Regions from separate parts of the Homo sapiens genome. Here all the other regions are linked to region 3. Evidence: promoter capture Hi-C in 16 types of primary human blood cells and fetal thymus (Javierre and others, 2016). All regions are on one chromosome and are shown on one strand. The core of a region is centred on a gene start or on the middle of the fragment in contact, and the rest is flanking DNA. Distances in the headings are between cores, read along the strand shown.

Region 1 (3,378 bases), core at 62-2,561, 1.7 Mb after region 3:
TTAAAATAAATCTGTTTCTATATCCATATATACACATCCTATTCATTCTTTATCTCTGGGCAACCATGACTAGCTAATACAGTCTCTAAATCAAACTGTGGTACCTTCTTTACTAAGGAATTCCTTCTAATAGCTCTATACCCATTGGCTTTCACAACATGAATCAGGGGTTGAAATTTCTGCATATTTTTCTCAGATCTGCTCCAGGCGACTTCCTTTCCCATGGCTAGTTAAATGGGGACTGGAGAAGGCGGAGAAATACTCACATTTTTAAAAGATTACAGCTAATTATGTAGACACACTGGCCCTTAGACCTATCTTACCTGGCATTTTATAATTTCCCTTTCACACAATATAATTTAATTCATATTTGGGGGACAGGAATATTGATCTACACTGTAACTTGTCTAGTTTCTGGAACGATAAACTAAAACTTCAAGCATATAAAATATGTTTATACTCTAAATTTTTAGTTTTTTCCCTAGTATTTGTATGTCTAGATATAATTACAAAGTCTATGTGATGTTTTTCATGTGACGATCCAATACAGTGCTTCCCTGAGCCCTTAAAAAATAAAAAATAAAAATACAACTTAAAGAAACAAAAACTCCCTACCGTAGCCGCTACAAGGGAGGCTAAGGCGGGAGGATTGCTTGAGGACAGGAGTTCGAGGCCAGCCTGGGCAACATAGTAAGACTTCCGTCACAAACACAAAAACTCCCAACCCGGGTTCGAGACCAGCCTGACCAACATGGAGAAACCCCGTCTCTACAAAAAATACAAAAATTAGTCAGGCTTGGTGGCACATCCTTGTAATCCCAGCTACTCGGGAGGGTGAGGCGGAGACTCGCTTGAATCCGGGAGGCGGAGGTGGCGGTGAGCCGAGATCGCGCCATTGCACTCCAGCCTGGGCAACAAGAGCGAACTCCGTCTCAAGAAAAAAAAAAAAATCACCTCCCAACCGTATGGACCACGCTGACATCCTGCCATCAAGAAGCAAAGCTTTCCAGCGTCCCCCAAGCGCTAGGGCCGCCTTCTGACTCTTCCGCCCCGCCTCCGCCCCCTGCACTCTCCCAACTGGCGGGAGGAGGGCGCCCTCCCAGCCAATCAACGTCCCACAGGGCCCGCCTCCCGCGCGTCTTTCAAAGGTCTTCTAGGAACCAGTCAGCGATTAGAGGCCGAGTCTTCGGCCACCCAAAGGCGGAGTAAGAAACCAGAAGCGGATCTGATTGGTTGCTGGAAGACGCCGCGCCCACCTCACAGAAGGACGAACCAGTGAGCTAAGCTGCGGGGCGCGGGCTCGGCCGGGGCACCGGTGAGTCGCCGGCGCTGCAGAGGGAGGCGGCACTGGTCTCGACGTGGGGCGGCCAGCGATGAAGCCGGTGAGTCGGACGTGCTGGGGTTTGGAGGAGCGAGGCGGCAGGGACGCAAGCGGTCCCGGGGACCCGATCCTGGGCCGGAGGGCAGCCCTAGCCTGGTAGCAGTGCGACTGGCGCCGTAACCGTTCTGCGGGTCGGGGAGGTGACTCGCACGGGCCCAGCACGGGCACGAGAGACGAAGGAGCAGGGTCGGTGGCCGACGAAGGAAAGACGGACATTCGCTGTGCACCTGCTGTGGGCTGTCACCTGTCCCCTGCGGGGTCTCATAAGCCTCCCAGCCGCCCAGCCAAAGAGGGCCGAGCCTCGTTGTACCGAGGAAACCGAGCCGAAGAGCTTGAGTGTCAGCGATGAGTGGGCGCGATACCCCAGCCCCGAAGGGTGGCCGGGCGCTACCTGCGCCCACAGGGCCTGGGGAAACCTTGAGTACGAATGCCACGCCGCGGCTTGTGGGCGACACCACCGCTGTCACCATGCCCCAGGGCCACCTGGCAATGCTGCTCTTTTCCCGTGACGTTCAGAATCACAGGGCCTGGGGAAGCAGAAACGTCCAGCTCTGTTAGGATTAATAAACCTGGTGAATGGGCCACACAAATTTGAAATATGAATCATCAAAGTTGCTTTAAAGAAAAAACAGATGCAGGCAAGGAGCTGAAGATCCCCCACCTAACCCATATTTCCTACTGCCCGGCTTGACAACCTACTGGAAGCCTTTCCTTTGGGTGCAGTTGATTATAATACTTCAGATAGAGCCAAAGCAACAGAAATCCATAGCCTAGGGCCGGGTGGTGTCTCGCGCCTGTAATCCCAACACTTTGGGAGGCCAAGGCGGGCGGATCACTTGAGGCCAGGAGTTGGAGACAAGCCTAGCCAACACGGTGAAACCCCGTCTCTACTAAAAATACAAACATTAGCTGAGCGTGGTAGTGCACGCCTGTAGTCCCAGCTACTCGGGAGGCTGAGCCACGCAAATAGCTTGAACCCAAGAGGCAGAGGTTGCAGTGAGCGGATATCACGCCACTGCCCTCCAGCCTGGGCGACAGAGCAAAACCCTATCTCAAGATAAAAGAAAGAAAGAAAAAAAAGTCCGTAGCCTAAATTAGCCGTCCTGTGATCTTCTAGTACCAAGACCGTTGTAGAATATAGCTTCAGAGCTAGAAAGAGCATTAGGTGCTTACAATTGCTAATCCCTATGTTGCCATGTGGAGGGACATCAGCTGTCCTTCACTCCTGGCCTCTTTCTCCACCTGTCCCCATTGAGTTATCTGATCCCCGAGTTTGGAAGGAACTGAACACCAGTATCTCAACTTTTTCTTTCCTTCTTTCTTGGGATCTACCTGCCTGCCTGCAGAAGGTGCTTTCTGGTCCACTCTCTGGCACACAGGAGCCCCAGACTGTCCATGGCCACCTGTGACTGGGTGGATACATTTGTCTAATTCTGGGGTGAACAAGGGGCAAGCCCACGTGGCAACAGCTTTAAGCTGCATACTCCATTTGATATACAATAATAAAACTCCATTTCTTTATCTTTCAATTGGTTTCAACTAGGGAGTGAGAAAAGGGTATGGGTTTTGTTCTGTTTTGTTTTTGTTTTTCTTTTTCTTTTGATTCCTTAAAATTTCAACAAGGAGTGTAGAAGTCTTCCATGTCAAAATGCTGCAGGATTAAGTTCCAACTGCTTAGATCAGCATACGAAGTCTATCTCAATCTCTCTAGTCTAGTGATTCATAAAGTTGGAGGCAGGTTATTTCACCTACACCACCCCCACCAAACTACTAGGCCATGTGGGGATGTTTTTTGAGAAAAGGGGTGGGCAAAACTACTTCATCTCCTCTACTCCATCTCTATTTTGATATCACAGTTCCTCAATACACAAGCCCTTGGCTTAACTTCTTTCCTTTCTTTTTTCTTCTTCCTTTTTTTTTTTTTTTTTTGGCAGAGTCATGCCCTGTCAGCCAGGCTGGAGTGCAGTGGTGTGTTCCTGGCTCACTGCAACCTCTGC
Region 2 (3,695 bases), core at 729-3,228, 1.5 Mb before region 3:
CTACTGAATTTTTTTTGAGAGATAACATACACCTGAAAGTGCATAAAGTGCACTGTCTTAAAATGTACAGCTTGATCCTTCTTTAAAAAAAATCATATACGTACGCCCATGTAACTACTGTTCATATCTAGATGTTGAACACCTCCAACACATCCAACATAACCATAATGTTCCTCTGCACCTTCCCTGTCTATAATCTCTCAGAAGTAAACCAATATTCCGACTCCTATAAAATCCATTAGCTTTACTACATGTTTCAAAGAAAACAAATGAGAACTCTGAAGGACATTTAATTGGAAAACTGCTTTAGCACATTATAAACTTACCAATTTGCTTGTAAACGCTAACCATTTGGCGCCAAAATCCTGGGAGGGTCTTTTAAACCGTTCTTCCTCAAAGCACCGCCCCACTTTTTACACCACGCCTCCTTTTGCTCTGTTCCTTCCCCCACAATATTGGGACACCCTAGGCGGTAGAAGCAGCCGCTTTTCTGTCATGCGCATTGCGGAGAGTCGTTCTTCCCTCTTTCCCGACTTCACCACTCACTGGGATCAGACCCCTGTCATGCGCATTGAGAGTCCTCTAGACAGGCGCTCCTCGCAGCACCGTAGTGCGCTTGCGCTGAGCAGCCCGCGAGGGCGGAAGTGGGAGCTGCGACCGCGCTCCCTGTGAGGTGGGCAAGCGGCGAAATGGCGCCCTCCGGGAGTCTTGCAGTTCCCCTGGCAGTCCTGGTGCTGTTGCTTTGGGGTGCTCCCTGGACGCACGGGCGGCGGAGCAACGTTCGCGTCATCACGGACGAGAACTGGAGAGAACTGCTGGAAGGAGACTGGATGATAGAATTGTGAGTGCGGGGCGGCCAGGGTCCTACGTCCGTGCCTGGACACACGACTTCACCCCGCACGTTCCTCGTGCGGGTCGCAGGCTCCCCAGGACTGCGCCTCCGAGTTGCGGAGCGAGCGTCCCCGACTTCTGCAGCTCCCCAAACTCTTGGGATCTGCCGCCAGCTTGGTCCCACCCCCTCGTCTCTTACCCGTGAATGTTAAGTTTCTTCTGGGGTGCACCCTCGTTTCGTTTCTTGGGTTGTGGTGCGCCCAAAGGGTTAGTGCCAATGCGAATTCTGACATTTTTCATGACTTTGAGGATGCGACTGGGGCGCGGGGAGGGAGGTGTCCGACTCGTGTCTAAGTAGTTAAAGTGATTCTTCACAGACTTCTACACTTATTTTCACCACATTTTACATAAGAGAATATTGAGCAAAATTTCTCCTCTCGTTTTGTCTGTCCTTAAAAGATAGTCTCTTTATGGTGTTGGAATTTGGCGCTTTTAAGCTTTTTTTAATGGATTGGGTACGTTTCTTTTTTATTGTAAATACTGAGTCAATTCAAGTTGGGTTATTTTTAAGTTTTCGTTTTCTCTTTTTGCCTCCTCTTTTGCTTTCTCTTTTTTTCACTCCTCATCTCATTTTTCCTTTGGGTGTCTTTGTAGTGTAGAGAATACCTTGGGTTGTGACTCCTAGGTCTTTGTAAATGGTATTACATTAAAAGATAATGTATTAATGTATACACTCTCAAGAGCGCCAGGTCATCATTTATTGCTCGAACGAAATCATGTATTTTGTGTGGTGATTTCAATTTAATAATATCTGTTCTGCCGCGGTGGGAAATAAAGTATCTGTCTTTGCTTTAGATGCTAAGTCGTTGTTGATGGTGGTATTATACATATTAGCAGTATTTACTGATAATAGTAAAAGCATAATTATTAACAGTGTACTGGACACCACTAAGCACCTTTACACGAATACCATATTTAATTCCCTACAAATTCTCTATGACAGGTGTTTTTCACGTTTTACAAATGAGTAACAAGATACCTAAATACTTTAGTTAACCTATGCAGATATTGCTGTGCTGGCTTTCTTTGGGTCTTCAGAGTAGGCATACAATAATTGTTGTTAGAACACCTTCTTCTTTAAAAAGGTTCAGCTGGAAGTGGCGTACGCTACCCAGGAGATTGAGGTATGAGGATGACTTGAGCCCAGGGGTTCAAGAGATCCTGGGCAACTAGCAAAATAAATAAGTAAATAAATAAAAATGAAAAGACAACAGGGTTCAGGTGAGTGTTTTCTTGTGTCACGAATACAGCAAGGGTTGTCAAGTTAAGGAGGCCAGTGAAAGTGACATCCCCAAGGGAGAACCCAGAAGGCTAAATCAGTAAGTCCTGTGTTATTTTTTAAAAAAACAAAACTGGCCGGCGCGGTGGCTCACGCCTGTAATCCCAGCACTTTGGGAGGCCGAGGCCGGTGGATCACGAGGTGAGGAGATCGAGACCATCCTGGCTAACACGGTGAAACGCCGTTTGTACTAAAAATACAAAAAATTACCTGGGCGTGGTGGCACGCGCCTGTAGTCCCAGCTACTCGGGAGGCTGAGGCAGAAGAATCGCTTGAATCTGGGAGTCAGAGGTTGCAGTGAGCCGAGGTCGCACCACTGCACTCCAGCCTGGGCGACAGAGTGAGACTCAATCTCAAAAAAAAAGTAGAACATTTATATGGAGGGTAAGATAAAGGGAAATTTTCATAGTATGCATGTAGTCTGCAATTCTGAAATGAATTTTCATTCAGGCACCATTGAAAGCTTCAGGGGAGAGGAACTGTGACACTTTTTCAGTCATCATCATGAGTAACTTGTTTTAGATCGTGCCTGTAAAATAGTGTTATAAGCAATATATTAAGCAATAGTGATCGTGTGTGTATATGCAAAATACAGTCAAGTATTACTCAAGGATATTTTTTAACTCATTATGGTCCAACTATATAAATACAGCAATCAGAAGTAGTATTAAGGAGAACAAGACTAACAAAACATTGAGTATGAGGTAAATCCACATTGGAGCATCTATCTGAAATTATGCTATAGAGTAGTAGTTTTTCTTTTTCCTTAAGTAGAGATTCTAAAGTAAGTTTTTAGAAAGCAACTGACAGCCTGGGCAACATGGCAAAAACCAGTCTCTACAAAAAAATACGAAAAATTAGCTGGGCGTGTGGGCAGGCATCTGTAGTCCCAGCTACTTGGGCTGAGGTGGGAGGATGTCTTGAGCCCGGGAGGTTGAGGTTGCAGTGAGCCCAGATGGCGCCACTGCCCTCCAGCCTGGGTAACAAAGCGAGACCCTGTTTCAAAAAATAAAAAAGCAACTGAGCAACAAAACGAACCTGAAAAAGAAGGACTCTAGTAGTTTTAGTAATAGTCTGCTCCTAATTACAAGTGAATTATCTACAGTAAATCCATTTCTGCTCAGAAGTTTTGTCATGGAGATATTTTCATTGTAATACGATTTATTGTTAGGAGCTTGGCTTTTATACTACCAGTTTGTCTTGTTCTACAATGTCTATTTTAGGAGTTTGGTTTTCATAAAACAAGTGAAGAAAATGTGAAGTACAGAAAGTATAGTTTTGTGTTTAACTGCTTTAGGCTTTATTCTTCCTGGTTCTGTTAAAAAAAAAAAAAAAAAAAGAACAACCCTGTGGTGTATTATAAGATAAAATACAATAAAGTGGAAAAATAAGATCCTCAGGAGATAATACCAGAGGAGTAATTTAAATGCTAATATGCTTGCATTTGTAAATCCAAGGTCTTGGAAACAGGATGACCTAACTGGCCAAGAGTTTTGTTTGGCCTGCTTAGTATTTGTGTGTGGGT
Region 3 (3,561 bases), core at 781-3,280:
AGGTTGCAGTGAGCCGAGATCGCGCCACTGCACTCCAGCCTGGCGACAGAGCAAGACTCCAACTCAAAAAAAAAAAAAAAAAAAAAAAAAAAAAAGAAAAATAGAATGGAATATTCACACAATACCCATGAGAATTGTTCCTAATAAATTTGAAGGCATCCTTTATGTGACTTTGGGTCATTAATTTACAAAAATTTGTACTTTATTTGTATATTTAGGATGTATATATTTAAACTCAAACATTCATGGCCATTGGATAAGGTGAGACCAAATGGAATCTATTTGGAGAATTTTACTCATGTTTTTTGGACAACAATTAATTGTCCCCAGGAACAATGATAGCAAGAGGTATAGCAATGAGGACCTGTAATGCAAAAATTGGAGTCATTACTACCCTTAAAATAAATATCTATTCAAAAGAACACTATTGAGTACATGCCATGTGGCAGATGTTGTGTTTAGGCACATTATCCTATTTAATACTCATGACAACCCCATTAGATAAGTGCAATTATTATGATCATTTTACAGAGATATTGAGGGAGTATGTAATTTTCCCCAAATCACAAAAATCTGAAAGTTGGCCAGGCGTCGTGGCTCACGCCTGTAATCCCAACACTTTGGGAGGCTGAGGCGGGCGGATCACTTGAGGTCAGTAGTTGGAGACCAGCCTGGCCAACATGGTGAAACCCCATTCCTACTGAAAATACAAAAATGAGCCGGGCGTGGTGGCGGGCGCCTGTAATCCCAGCTTCTCAGGAGGGTGAGGCACGACAATCGCTTGAACCCGGGAGGCAGAGGTTGCAGTGAGCCAAGATCGCACCACTACACTGCAGCCTGGGTGACAGAGTGAGACACAGACTCAAAAAAAAAAAAAAAAAAAAAAAAATCTGGCCGGGCGCAGTGCCTCACACCTGTAATCCTAGCACTTTGGGAGGCTGAGGAGGGTGGATCACCTGAAGTCAGCAGTTCGAGACCAGCATGGCCAACATGGCGAAACCCCGTCTCTACTAAAAATACAAAAATTAGCCGGTTGTGGTGGCGCACACCTGTAATGCCAGCTACTCCGGAGGCTGAGGAAGGAGAATTGCTTGAACCCGGGAGGTGGAGGTTGCAGTGAGCTGAGATCGCGTCACCGCTCCAGCCTGTGCGGCAGGAGCAAGACTCCATCTCAAAAGTAAATAAATAAATACATAAATCTGAAGGTTCTATCAGACTTCAAAGTTCCTGCCTCAGCCTACTTCAGCATCTTTATCTTGTACCCCACATCTCTACAACCCACCCCCTACTGGTCTCATTGGCCTCCTTTCTGTTCCTGGAAGTGAGTCAAGCTTTCTACCCACAACCCCCACCCCACTCCACTCCAGGACTTGCACTGTTTGTTTAGGTTTTCTTCAGTTGTTGCAAGGCTGGCTCCTTCTCATCTCAGATATCTGTTCTAGATTAATTCTTCCCACCATACTTCTCACCGTGTTTTAATTCCTTCACAGTATTTGTTAAACTCTGAAGTTTTTTTTATTATTATTTCCTATCAAATGATAAGCAGATCTACCTTTAATACCTCATTCACTGACTGAATGGATGAATAAAACTGTCTACTTCTCCAGCACGTGGAGGTCTTGGACAGTACTGTGTTATAACAAAGGCCATCTGTGTTGTGTCGACAGGCCATCGGAACTCCTTTGAGGTATTACACATTTCCTACTTCACTTCCATCTCAGTTTATTACAGAGCCTTTTATACTTCCGGGACAGCAGTGACTTAATACTGAGGCCTCTCAGGGGAAGACCGGGATAACTGAGTCCTGCTTTACCTATCTCGGCTTGCAAGAAACGGTATAGGTGGAGGCCTCTTTCAGTGTATGCCGGCGCTCTAGGTGAACCGAGACATAGAGGTGGAAGTGGAGTAGAAAGACGGGGCCAACCGGAAGGGGAGGGCTCATGGGCGAACCCACCCCTCCAGGCAGGGTTTCGCCCCTCGCCCCGCCCCTTCCCCCGCCCGGACGGCCATGGCCATTCCCGGCATCCCCTATGAGAGACGGCTTCTCATCATGGCGGACCCTAGAGATAAGGCGCTTCAGGACTACCGCAAGAAGTTGCTTGAACACAAGGAGATCGACGGCCGTCTTAAGGAGTGTGAGTGCACCTTTCTTTCCATTTAATCAAGTGCCTCGACTCGCTTCTGCCTCTGACAAAGCAGAAGCCTTTCGCCGAGCCCGGCAACCGAGCCTTAGAGATGACCAGGCCTAGGGCCAGGGACAAGGCGCTTTGTCATCCGGCCCTGAGCTTGTGGAGCAGCACTCCTTCGGGTGTAGAAATGGCCCAGTCCAGCCCGGGTGACAGAACATCGGCGGCCTTGAGGTGAAAATGAAAAAGAAGTAGAGGAGGAGTGGGGAAGTGGGCCGAGGATGTTTCCCAGGTTAGGGTGCAAGAAGGGCAGTCTTGGTGGAGTCCCGGGACTTGGAGAGGGGAAGGCGCTTGAGTCAAGTAAGCTCAAACAAGAGATGAGACTCAGGGAGTCGGCTTGTTCTTGGAGTCGAAAGACGGCCGCGGAGCTTAAGAGAGAAGTGTTCCAGTTGTCATAATAACCCATATCGTCTTGTGTTTCGTGTTGTACTGTATCAGGCATACAAATTTCCCTTACCTCCTGAGTGCTTAACTTTTTTTTCCAGTGCATTTTCATTGAAAAGCATGAGTAGTTTAATTAAATGGAGGACCATAATTACATGATTCTGTGGAGAACTGCATTTGTTGACTTTATTTAGGGTAGAATGTCAGAGAACAATCCACGTGGGTAGGTGAAGAGGTGAGGAAGGGTCTAAGTGATTATCATTCGGATTTGTAGTCGCAAATCCTAAGTGTCAGGGTGTCAATATCTTCTAAGACTATAACTTAAGATGTGCTTAAACAAGTATTGCCGATCAACAAAGTAAAAGTATGGTGCTTTCTCTGTAACATTTTGTTGTTATACATGCCACCTACTCATTACAAACAGCATTATTTCTTTTATGGTTTGAAACAGTGGATGTGAAACTTAGGTAAAGTGAAGTAGACTTACGTAAACAGTAAAGTGAGACGTAGCGACTTAAACACACTAAGATTACTGTTCAATTAAAAATGTTCAAATTGTATTATTTCAGTAAGGGAACAATTAAAAGAACTTACCAAGCAGTATGAAAAGTCTGAAAATGATCTGAAGGCCCTACAGAGTGTTGGGCAGGTAGGTGATGGAGTTTGGGGAATAGGGGGTGATGGTAATTTGCTTTTTTATTTAGCTGTTGCCAAAAAGTAATGCTTTTTATTTTCTTCCTTAGATCGTGGGTGAAGTGCTTAAACAGTTAACTGAAGAAAAATGTGAGTGATGAATTAGCTTATTAATTAGTAAAGAAACAGTCCACCTCTCTCTCACTTTTGAAATGCTTATTATTTTAATGACAATAATGCAGAGAGAGAGAGTATTTTTGAATAGACTTAAGTTTTCCTTCAACTAATGTCTCCTTGGAGGACAGAAATACAACTAAACCCTCTGTCAACGTGGGTATGTATTTTTTTACTTTCTATT

Evidence for each region. The method cuts DNA at HindIII sites, captures the fragments that hold promoters and counts their contacts. A CHiCAGO score of 5 or more calls a contact.
Region 1: a contact is called between the fragment with the promoter of CDKN3 here and the fragment with the promoter of PSMC6 in region 3, in 1 of 17 cell types (neutrophils). The highest score is 5.7, in neutrophils.
Region 2: a contact is called between a fragment that was not itself captured here and the fragment with the promoter of PSMC6 in region 3, in 1 of 17 cell types (fetal thymus). The highest score is 6.1, in fetal thymus.

The regions. Positions count from the first base shown.
Region 1 is chr14:54,395,696-54,399,073 of GRCh38, forward strand. It overlaps CDKN3 (cyclin dependent kinase inhibitor 3), which reads left to right and starts at 1,312. Exons shown (of 8, transcript NM_005192.4): 1 at 1,312-1,382. The coding sequence starts at 1,374. The HindIII fragment of the contact is 7,211 bases long and covers 1,001-3,378 here.
Region 2 is chr14:51,239,604-51,243,298 of GRCh38, forward strand. It overlaps TMX1 (thioredoxin related transmembrane protein 1), which reads left to right and starts at 644. Exons shown (of 8, transcript NM_030755.5): 1 at 644-841. The coding sequence starts at 690. RefSeq lists a silencer at 480-822 and an enhancer at 683-922. The HindIII fragment of the contact is 1,305 bases long and covers 1,327-2,631 here.
Region 3 is chr14:52,705,170-52,708,730 of GRCh38, forward strand. It overlaps PSMC6 (proteasome 26S subunit, ATPase 6), which reads left to right and starts at 2,031. Exons shown (of 14, transcript NM_002806.5): 1 at 2,031-2,135; 2 at 3,140-3,219; 3 at 3,314-3,353. The coding sequence starts at 2,051. RefSeq lists enhancers at 1,582-1,691, 1,712-1,771, 2,072-2,321, 2,342-2,391. The HindIII fragment of the contact is 4,351 bases long and covers 1,330-3,561 here.